Linked DNA regions of Homo sapiens: all the other regions are linked to region 3. The links are contacts of gene promoters, found by promoter capture Hi-C in human tissues and cell types (Jung and others, 2019). All regions are on one chromosome and are shown on one strand. Each heading gives the region's core, a stretch centred on a gene start or on the middle of the fragment in contact. The rest is flanking DNA. Distances are from core to core; before and after follow the strand shown.

Evidence for each region. The method cuts DNA at HindIII sites, captures the fragments that hold promoters and counts their contacts. A contact is called where the count stands out against the background at its distance.
Region 1: a fragment that was not itself captured here is called in contact with the fragment with the promoter of NUP214 in region 3 in 1 of the 25 tissues and cell types used here (heart left ventricle).
Region 2: a contact is called between a fragment that was not itself captured here and the fragment with the promoter of NUP214 in region 3, in 2 of the 25 tissues and cell types used here (dorsolateral prefrontal cortex and spleen).

What each region holds. Positions count from the first base shown.
Region 1 is chr9:131,430,117-131,433,480 of GRCh38, forward strand. PRRC2B (proline rich coiled-coil 2B) reads left to right here. Exons shown (of 32, transcript NM_013318.4): 2 at 1-143; 3 at 2,501-2,678. The coding sequence starts at 29. Among named protein-coding and RNA genes, the nearest start is that of PRRC2B, 38 kb to the left of the region's middle. The HindIII fragment of the contact is 4,521 bases long and covers 1-3,364 here.
Region 2 is chr9:131,484,655-131,487,654 of GRCh38, forward strand. PRRC2B (proline rich coiled-coil 2B) reads left to right here. Exons shown (of 32, transcript NM_013318.4): 24 at 32-136; 25 at 294-486; 26 at 1,431-1,528; 27 at 2,513-2,640. It overlaps SNORD62A (small nucleolar RNA, C/D box 62A), which reads left to right and starts at 1,011; the gene lies at 1,011-1,096. The HindIII fragment of the contact is 7,477 bases long and covers 1-3,000 here.
Region 3 is chr9:131,124,200-131,127,264 of GRCh38, forward strand. NUP214 (nucleoporin 214) reads left to right here and starts at 1,387. Exons shown (of 36, transcript NM_005085.4): 1 at 1,387-1,550. The coding sequence starts at 1,506. It also overlaps the pseudogene RNU6-881P. RefSeq lists an enhancer at 1,286-1,585. The HindIII fragment of the contact is 5,493 bases long and covers 1-3,065 here.

The DNA of each region.
Region 1 (3,364 bases), core at 4-2,503, 310 kb after region 3:
TTTCCTTACTAGATGACATTTCATCGCAATGTCCGATCGTTTGGGGCAAATTACCAAGGGCAAGGATGGGAAAAGCAAGTACTCGACTCTCAGCCTGTTTGATAAGTATAAAGGAAAATCAGTAGACGCGATTAGATCCTCAGGTAAGGCCCAGGGTTGAAGGCCAGTTCCTCAAACTTTCTCCGAGTGACATATCCCAGAAACCCAGAGTCCCTCACCTGGTTAGACAGATGTGGTCCGTGCACACCAGGCTTCTGGGTGTGCATGTAGAATCACTCTCTACTTCCTACTTGAGGTATGATTTCAGAGCCTTGAGCATCCTGACTCTTTCTGTAGTGGAATTTTCTCCATCTATTACCTTATTGAAGCTGGGGAGATATATCTATAGATATCTATAGATAGATAGATAGATATCTATCTATAGATATCTATAGGTGTGTGTGTATGTGTGTGTGTGTGTGTGTGTGTGTGTGTGTGTGTATATATATGTTTTGGAGACAGAGTCTCACTCTGTCACCCAGGCTGGAGTTCAGTGGCATGATCTCAGCTCATTGCAACCTCCACCTTCTGGGCTCAAGCGAGTCTCTTGCCTCAGCCTCCCGAGTAGCAAGGATTACAGATGTGTGCCACCACGCCCAGCTAATTTTTGTATTTTTAGTAGAGATGGGGTTTCCCCATGTTAGTGAGGCTGGTCTCAAACTCGTGACCTCAGGTGATCCACCCGCCTCGGCCTCCCAAAGTGCTGGGATTACAGGTGTGAGCCACTGTGCCTGGCCAAAGCTGTGGATTTTTATCCTGATGGGTAGAATGGGACTTAATAGGCATTAGTGTTATCCTTTTTTTTTTTTTTTGAGACACAGTTTCGCTCTTATTGCCCATGCTGGAGTGCAATGGCGTGATCTCAGCTCAGTGCAACCTTCACCTCCTAGGTTCAAGTGATTCTCCTGCCTCAGCCTCCTGAGTAGCTGGGATTACAGGCATGTGCCACCACGCCCGGCTAATTTTGCTTTTTGTTTTTTGTTTTTCTTTTTTGAGACGGAGTCTCACTCTGTCATGCAGGGTGGAGTGCAGTGGTGTGATCTTGGCTCACTGTAAGCTCTGCCTCCCGGGTTCACGCCATTCTCCTGCCTCAGCCTCCCAAGTAGCTGGGACGACAGGCGCCCACCATCATGCCTGGCTAATTTTTTGTATTTTTAGTAGAGACGGGGTTTCACCGTGTTAGCCAGATCGGTCTTGATCTCCTGACCTCGTGATCGGCTTGCCTCGGCCTCCCAAAGTGCTGGGATTACAGGCGTGAGCCACCGTGCCCAGCCTAATTTTGTATTTTTAATAGAGATGGGGTTTCTCCATGTTGGTCAGGCTGGTCTCGAACTCCCGACCTTAGGTGATCCACCCACCTCGGCCTCCCAGGGTGCTGGGATTACAGGCATGAGCCACTGCGCCTGGCCAGTGTTATCCTTAATAAAGAATTTTTTTTTTTTTTTGAGACGGAGTCTCACTCTGTTGCTCAGGCTGGATGGAGTGCAGTGGCGCAATCTCGGCTCACTGCAAGCTCCACCTCCTGGGTTCACGCCATTCTTCCGCCTCAGCCTCCTGAGTGGCTGGGACTACAGGCGCCCGCCATCACTCCCGGCTAATTTTTTGTATTTTTAGTAGAGACAGGGTTTCACCGTGTTAGCGAGGATGGTCTCGATCTCCTGACCTCGTGATCCGCCCGCCTCGGCCTCCCAAAGTGCTGAGATTACAGGCATGAGCCACCGCGCCCGGCCATCCTTAAAGAATTTTTTAAATTTTGTTTTAAAATTTATTTATTTATTTAGAGACTGGGTTATGAGACTGGCTAATTTTTGTATTTTTAGTAGAGACAGGGTTTTGTCACATTGCCCAGGCTGGTCTCGAACTCCTGGGCTCAAGCGATCTACCCACCTCGGCCTCCCAAAGTGCTGCAATTACACGTGTGAGCCACCACGCCTGGTGTGTTATCAGCCTTTTTAGCTTTCATGGTTCTTGATATTCTAGAACTTGTTGGAAAGGTTCTTGTTGATCCTTTTCACACCCCATGAAGACTTCATGAATGTCGAAGGGCTCCTGTTCAGTCTTGTTTTGGATCTAGGCAGAGGCTGTCCCTTTAGTCCTGTAATGAGACCAGAGCTGTCTCAACTTGCAGAGAGGTGGTTCCTCTGTAAGCTGGAGGTTCCTGGGCCTGTCTCCTCACCCATGTTGTAAAGTCTGCGAGCCTTGTCCTGCCCATCAGTGAAATGGAAGCCTTTTTACAGGTTTTAGCAGCTCCTTTGTCCCTGTAGTCTTCAGTGAAGAGCTTGTAAAGTGACTAAAGTGACACCAAACACTTGTTTGTCCCACTGCTGGTCTGCCCTTTGTTTTTTGTTGGGTTAGCTTTGTTATGATCACTTAGAGATTGAAAGAACAGCTGAATGCATCAGGCTTCTTTCCTTCTGTGACCTTTTTGCATGGTGTCTGTTCCATGTCCCTCTCCCTGCAGTTATTCCTAGACATGGCTTACAGAGTCTTGGGAAAGTTGCTGCAGCCCGGCGCATGCCACCGCCTGCAAACCTGCCAAGCTTGAAGTCTGAAAACAAAGGAAACGACCCCAACATCGTGATAGTACCCAAGGACGGGACGGGATGGGCAAACAAGCAGGATCAGCAAGACCCAAAGAGGTAAACGGAGGAGGCGGGTGGTGAGTGGGAGCTGGCGCTCCAAGGGTGGTCCCGGCATCCTTCCCTGTGGCAAACTAACCCTAACCCTTTGGCTACTGCAGCGCTAGTCTTGCAGTGGCAGAATTGGAACACTGGGAGATGCAAATGAAGCTGCTTCCTCTCTGGCCCTGGTGCTTCGTATGTTTCTTTTTCCCTGCCTTCATTTTTTCTGGCTTTTAGAGCCGATGGAGCAGCACATCTGTGGACAACCTTGTCCCCAGTGACCACTTTCCCCCTGTGCCTTATTAGGAAAGGCCTCATCACCCCAGAGGAGCTTATGCAATGACTCAGAGCCAATTCCTGTAAGAAACACTGTGGACAGAGCTGGGGCTTGAGGACTTCATTCCTGGTGATGGGTGTCCCTGTGAGCTGAGCTCTGCAGAGAATCATGCAGCTTCCCTAACCATCGGCCCAGCAGCTTCCCAGACAGAGGAGACTTCTGCTGTTGCTCTAAACAGACCTAGTCATCAGTGAGAACAGCACAGAATCCTCCAGGATCACTGTACTGCAGCCTCCCTGGAGGCTCACCTCCTGCCAGCACAGTACTTACAGAAACCCTAGGGGGCAGAGGGTGGCATGGTGCTGTCAATCAGAGAAACAGCCCCTGTGTGGTGGGCTGAAAACACAGGGCCTGGCTGCCTGGGGCC
Region 2 (3,000 bases), core at 354-2,853, 360 kb after region 3:
TGTTCCATGGTTTCCTTTTCCTCCTCTCCAGGCAGGGTTAACACAGAGTATCCCCATCCTGCGGCGGGACCATCACATCCAGAGGGCCATCGGTCTCTCCCCAATGTCCTTCCCCACCGCCGACCTTACTCTGAAGGTAACACCAGCCCTGAGCTGGGTGAGGGCCCACCCAGTACCTTAGCTTACAAAGAGGCAGAAGGGAGGAGTCCCCGAACCCCTAAAGCTTAGATTGGCTCTGTCCACTGCCAGCGTGATAGTAATTTTCATCCCTCCCCCTCCCCTTGCTTCTGAAGATGGAGTCTGCGCGCAAGGCTTGGGAAAACTCCCCCAGTTTGCCGGAGCAGAGCTCTCCAGGCGGCGCTGGCTCAGGCATCCAGCCTCCATCCTCTGTGGGTGCCTCCAGCGGGGTCAACTACAGCTCCTTCGGTGGAGTGTCCATGCCACCCATGCCTGTGGCCTCTGTAGCACCTTCTGCTTCTATGCCAGGTATCTCATCCCCTGAGCAAGGCCTTGGGGTCCTTCTCCATTTATTATCAAGAAAAACGGATTAACAGCCCCGAATGTCACCTCCTGGCCTTGTCTTAAGTAGCATGTAGAAGTAGCAACTTGTTTTTAGGCCCAGTGGTCGTAGCTCCCATGTGCTGCAGGTAATGTGCACGTCCTGCTTCCCCACGCTGGGAAACAGAACTGGGGGATAACAGCGAGGCACTCCTGCCTACTGGTGACAGGAGCGAGCAAAGGCTTGACTTTGAGTCAGACCTGGGTCATGTGCTGGAGCCGTGTCGCCTCGGCTGGTGAGCAGCTCTTGCCGAGCCACAGTGTCCTCTCCTCTCTTACATGAAACTCCGTGGGGTGGCCACACCCGTGAGGCCAGGTCTTACCTGGAAAGGGCTTTGTATCAACAGAGCCCTCAGTCACTGGCAGCTACTTTTGTCCTGATTGCTGCCATCCTTATCGTGTGCCAGTGTCCCCAAGGGGAAGCGTGGGGGTTTTGAGGGCCCAGCTGCCAGTCTCAGTGATGTAATTCCAATAGATCCTTCTGACCCTCCACTGTGGACTCAATAGCAGGGAGATGAAGAGGACAGTGACTGAGAGACCAAGGCAGCCCTGGTTAAAGTAGAATGCCCCTTCGAGTGTCTGGGGTAGTTGGTGAGTGGGAGGTGGGAAGGGTAGGCCAGAGCCCACCTGCCTCCTCCCTCCTCCTAGGTCTGACGCTGCACCCTCCCTACGTTCCCTGAGGTGCGTGCCAGGCGTGTTGTGAGCAGGCGTGTGCTTCCGGCACACAGGGAACCTAGCAGCCTCTGTACACACGCCCTCGTCCCCACTGAGTCCCCTGGGTAGAGCAGACCTGTAGACTGTTTCCCTCAGGGACATTGAGAAGTAGTGAGGCTTGATCCTCTTCTACGTCCCTTTTGCCGCTCTGTTTCCAGGCAGCCACCTCCCGCCCCTGTACCTGGATGGCCATGTGTTTGCAAGTCAGCCCCGGCTGGTTCCTCAAACGATACCTCAGCAGCAGAGTTACCAACAGGTGACAGCAGCTAGCCAGGTGGCCTGGCTGGGGGTGGTGGGGAGGAGCCAGTGCAGGGCGGAATTGGCTTGCTCATCTATTTCTCATTGTCTGTCTGGTTTTCCATCCCCCTCACATGTGGTGACCAGCACCTGGCCCGCCACGGCAGCCAGGAGGCATTTGTTAAGCGAATAATCGAGACAGGGAAGAGGAGTGGAGTTGGCTGCTCCAGACTCTGCTTAGTTTTCCTTTCTCAAAGTTCTCCCTCCTGTGTCCTAGCCGGGGAATTAGCTAAAATGGAATTTTCTTTGGTGATCAGGTATCCTTCTGATGAAGAGAAGAAAGGCCTAAACTCCCAGGCATGGATGCATTAGAAAGAGGTAGTCTTAGAAATGAGCAGGCGTTGGTTATTTATGCAGGACTGGCATACTTTCTGTGCTGCCAAGGGGTGATTTTTGGAAGTCTCCCCTCTAATGCTGGTGCTGGGCCTTTGGGATGGTCTAGCCGCCCCTCAGACCCATGTGCCTCCACAGCCACGACAGTGGACTTCCAGGCAGAATCTGCTCCAAGTGCAGGCTTGCTGATGGAGGATGTGGCCTCTGCTGACCTCTTTTTAAAAACATGTTCTTAACTGCTGTATTGTTTGGTTACCAAGATTTTGGTTCTTGCATAACTGGGTCAGACTGCATGTATCTTTCTTTTTGTGCATTGTTAAATTCAGCGTTATGTTTTTGGAACTCACCTCTGTTGACGTATGTGCTAGGATCCATTTTTGTTGCTGTGTAGAATTCCAGGGTAGGGATATGCTGTGGTTTGGGGTTGCTACCAGTTTTTCATTATAGGCTTTATCCCAATAGCAAGGGAAGCCCAGGAATGACATGCTGGCATTTGAATTTTGGGCAGTGTTCCAGCAGCCATGTGGAGAGGGGCAGGGGAGGTGGGAGGGGAAGAACCACCTGGATGGGCCTTGCGGTTACCTCCCCGACCCCGTTTTCCCGTTCACAGGCCGCCGCTGCCCAGCAGATCCCGATCTCCCTTCACACATCTCTGCAGGCACAAGCTCAGCTTGGACTGAGGGGTGGGCTTCCTGTGTCCCAGTCCCAGGAGATCTTCAGCTCCTTGCAGCCCTTCAGGTGAGCTCATGTACCAGCTTGCGGAGCTGGCAGCTCACAGCCAGGGCCTTGGCCCTGTGTGCAGCCTTCGTCCTGCAGCTGTTTGGTGCTTGTCTGCTTTGGGGCCAGTGGGGCGGGGAGGGGTGGGAGTTTGCTCTGAATCACTCTTCAGTCCGTTGTTAACTGTGCTCTAGGAGAGGCCTGGGGCGAGCTGATATGTGGTGGGCCGTGTTTTGCTTTTCCATGTCATCTTGCCTCCTTTCCTTGCTCCTTCCTCCTCCTCTCCCCTTGACTCCCTGTCTCCTCCCCACCGCGGGCTTCTCCGTCAGTGTGGCTGCCAGTCATTGTGGCTGATGTCCTGTGCCTCGTACAGCCTGGATG
Region 3 (3,065 bases), core at 137-2,636:
GAGACGGGGTTTCACCATGTTGGCCAGGCTGGTCTCGAGCTCCTGACCTCAGGTGTTCCACCCACCTCGGCCTCCCAAAGTACTGTGGTTACAGGCGTGAGCCACTGCTCCCAGCCTATTTTTATTTACTTTTTTTTTTTTTTTTTTTTTGAGACGGAGTCTCGCTCTTTCGCCCAGGCCAGACTGCAGTGGCGCTGTCTCTGCTCACTGCAACCTCCGCCTCCCGGGTTCACGCCATTCTCCTGCCTCAGCCTCCCGAGTAGCTGGGACTACAGGTGCCCGCCACCGCGCCCGGCTAATTTTTTGTATTTTTAGTAGAGTCGGGGTTTCACCGTGTTAGCCAGGATGGTCTCCATCTCCTGACCTCGTGATCCGCCCGCCTCGGCCTCGCAAAGTGCTGGGATTACAGGCGTGAGCCACCGCGCCCGGCCTTTTATTTACTTTTTGAGACAGGGCCTGGCTCTGTCACCCAGGCTGGAGTGCAATGGTGCAATCACAGCTCCCTGTAGCCTCAACCTCCTGGGCTCAGGCAATTCTCCCACCTCAGCCTCCCGAGTAGCTGAGACTACATACGCATGCCATCACTGCTGGCTAATTTTTGTGGTTTTGTTTTGTTTTTTATAGAGACGGGGTCTCGCCATGTTGCCGAGGCTGGTCTCAAACTCCTGGTCTCAAGCAATCCTCCTGTCTCCGCCTCCCAAGTGCTGGGATTATAGGCATGAGCCACCCGCGTCTCATCAATTAAATAAATAACCCCTAGGACGACTAAGATGTCTTCAAGATTACATGAGATCCCACATCTGAAGGTTTTTGCAAAGGACTTGGCACAAACTCGTGCGACTAGACATGGATATGGCTCTTGCTCTGGAAAGGATCACCTTGATAGGAGCAAACAAAGCTGGTCTTCGGTGCCCTTTAATCTCCCCTCCCAGCCTTCCACCTTCCACACTTTAAGAGTCGTCCCTGCCGACCCCCCGACCCCGTTTTTCTGAACCTCCCTTCCTCCCCTTGCATAGTCCAAAGCCTCTCTCTAAAGCAGCCCCCCGAAAACATCTGTCAAGTTCCAAACTTATCTGAATCGGAAGCTACCAATAGCCAACCTACATCTAAGGGGAACTGTAAGATTTCAGAAGAACAAGAAGCATAGGTCGCTTAGGCGTGGGCCACCCAAGAAGAGAGACTTAACACTAGGTAAGCCCGCGCTGGCTGCGAAGGCGGGAGCGGCACCAGGACCATCCAGGGCGCAGGCGCAGGGACCTCACGGCCACGCCACTACTCAGCCCGAGCTGGCCAATGGGGAGCGGCGGCCGGAAGAACGCGCGGCTTCGCTAGGTTCCGCGGCTTCCTCTGACCAAGCTTGACGTCACCAAAGCGCGCCGGAAATGCGAGGTCAACTGCGCGCCGCTGGCGCTGAGGGGAGGAAGTTTGCTGTCGAGCGGCCTGGGTTCCGTGGGCAAGGCCGTGGGAGGCAGCGTTGGCTGCTTCGACACACTGAGGGCGGCGCGATGGGAGACGAGATGGATGCCATGATTCCCGAGCGGGAGATGAAGGTCAGAGACTAACCGGGGCCTCCCTCCCTTCTTTAGTCCTGGCGTTGCCTTGGAGCCCAGCTGAAAGGCGAAGCGCGGTGCTGGCTGTCCCGCCTCCTGCTTGAACAGTTTACCGCGTTCACAGCTCTCACCAGCGCGTCTGCCGCGCCGCTGGCGTGATAGCCCCACCGAATGCAGTTTCCCAGTCCCATCCTGGTCTCGTGCACGGCTGTTGAGTTACCCTAGCTACTTCCTGGGGCGGTCACAATAGTGGCAATAACTGCTGTTTATTGAGTGTTGACTGTGTGCCAGGCACTGTGGTAGTCATCGCGGCAGCCCTACGAAGTAGTCGTTAACGTAGAGGAGTAAGTTGAGGCTCGGAAAGTAATTTCCCTAAAGTCACATTTGACGCGGGGCTGAAAGCCAGCATCATTTAAGACCTTTGCTCTCCCAGTACTTCTGTAAGGTGATACGGGCTTGCCTAACGTAGAGTCAGGGAAGGTCATCCATCCTGCAGAACCTTTAGTTGATTGGACTAGGAAGACTATTTTGACCTCGGTATATCAGCCTAAAGTCAGGAACCTAAAGGGAGGGCCAAGTGGTCCCAGTGATAGCAACGTGGGAGTCCCCCAGGGATAACTTCAGGATGGTGTGTTTAATAGTTCTTATATGGGTTCTGACAGAATGAGGGTACAACAGACGGGCTACATCTGTTTTAAATAGTGAAAAGAAGTAAGTTGCAGGAAGATTTTAGGCATCTGTGTGAACAATAAATCACTAAAATGCATTTAGGGCATAGTAATACCATGTTTAGAATAGTGATTTTTTTTTTTTTTTGAGACAGAGTCTTGCTCTGTCACCCAAGCTGGAGTGCAGTGGCATGATCTCGGCTCCCTGCAACCTCCACCTCCCCGGCTCAAGCGATTCTCCTGCTTCAACCTCCCTAGTAGCTGGTATTACAGGCGCCTGCCACCACGCCCCACTAATTTTTTATATCATTTGGTAGAGACTGGGTTTCACGATGTTGGCCAGGCTGGTCTCGAACTCCTGACCTAACGTGATCCGCCCTCCTCTGGCTCCCAAAGTGCTGGGATTATAGGCGTGAGCTACCGTGCTGTCCTAGAATAGTGATTATTTTTTGAGAATCACCACCTGTGGTGAGCCACCTAATGGGGTTGTGTCATATTCCTCAGATATGCTGGGGTAGAAGAAAAAAAGGTTTTATTAATAGAACCACAGACTTAGAAGATGGTAATCTCGCACTCCCTTTGGCAGCACATATAAAATTGGGATCATGCAGAGAAGACTATTATGGCCCCTTTACATGGATGACAGACAAATTCATGAAGTGTTCCATATCAGAAAAAAATGAGGGCCGAGTGTGGTGGCTCATGCCTGTGAGCTTGCACTTTGGGAGGCTGAGGTGGATGGATCACTTGAGGTCCGGAGTTCGAGACTAGCCTGGCCAACATAATGAAACCCTGTGTCTACTAAAAATACAAAAATTAGATGGCCATGGTGGCGGGTGCCTGTAAT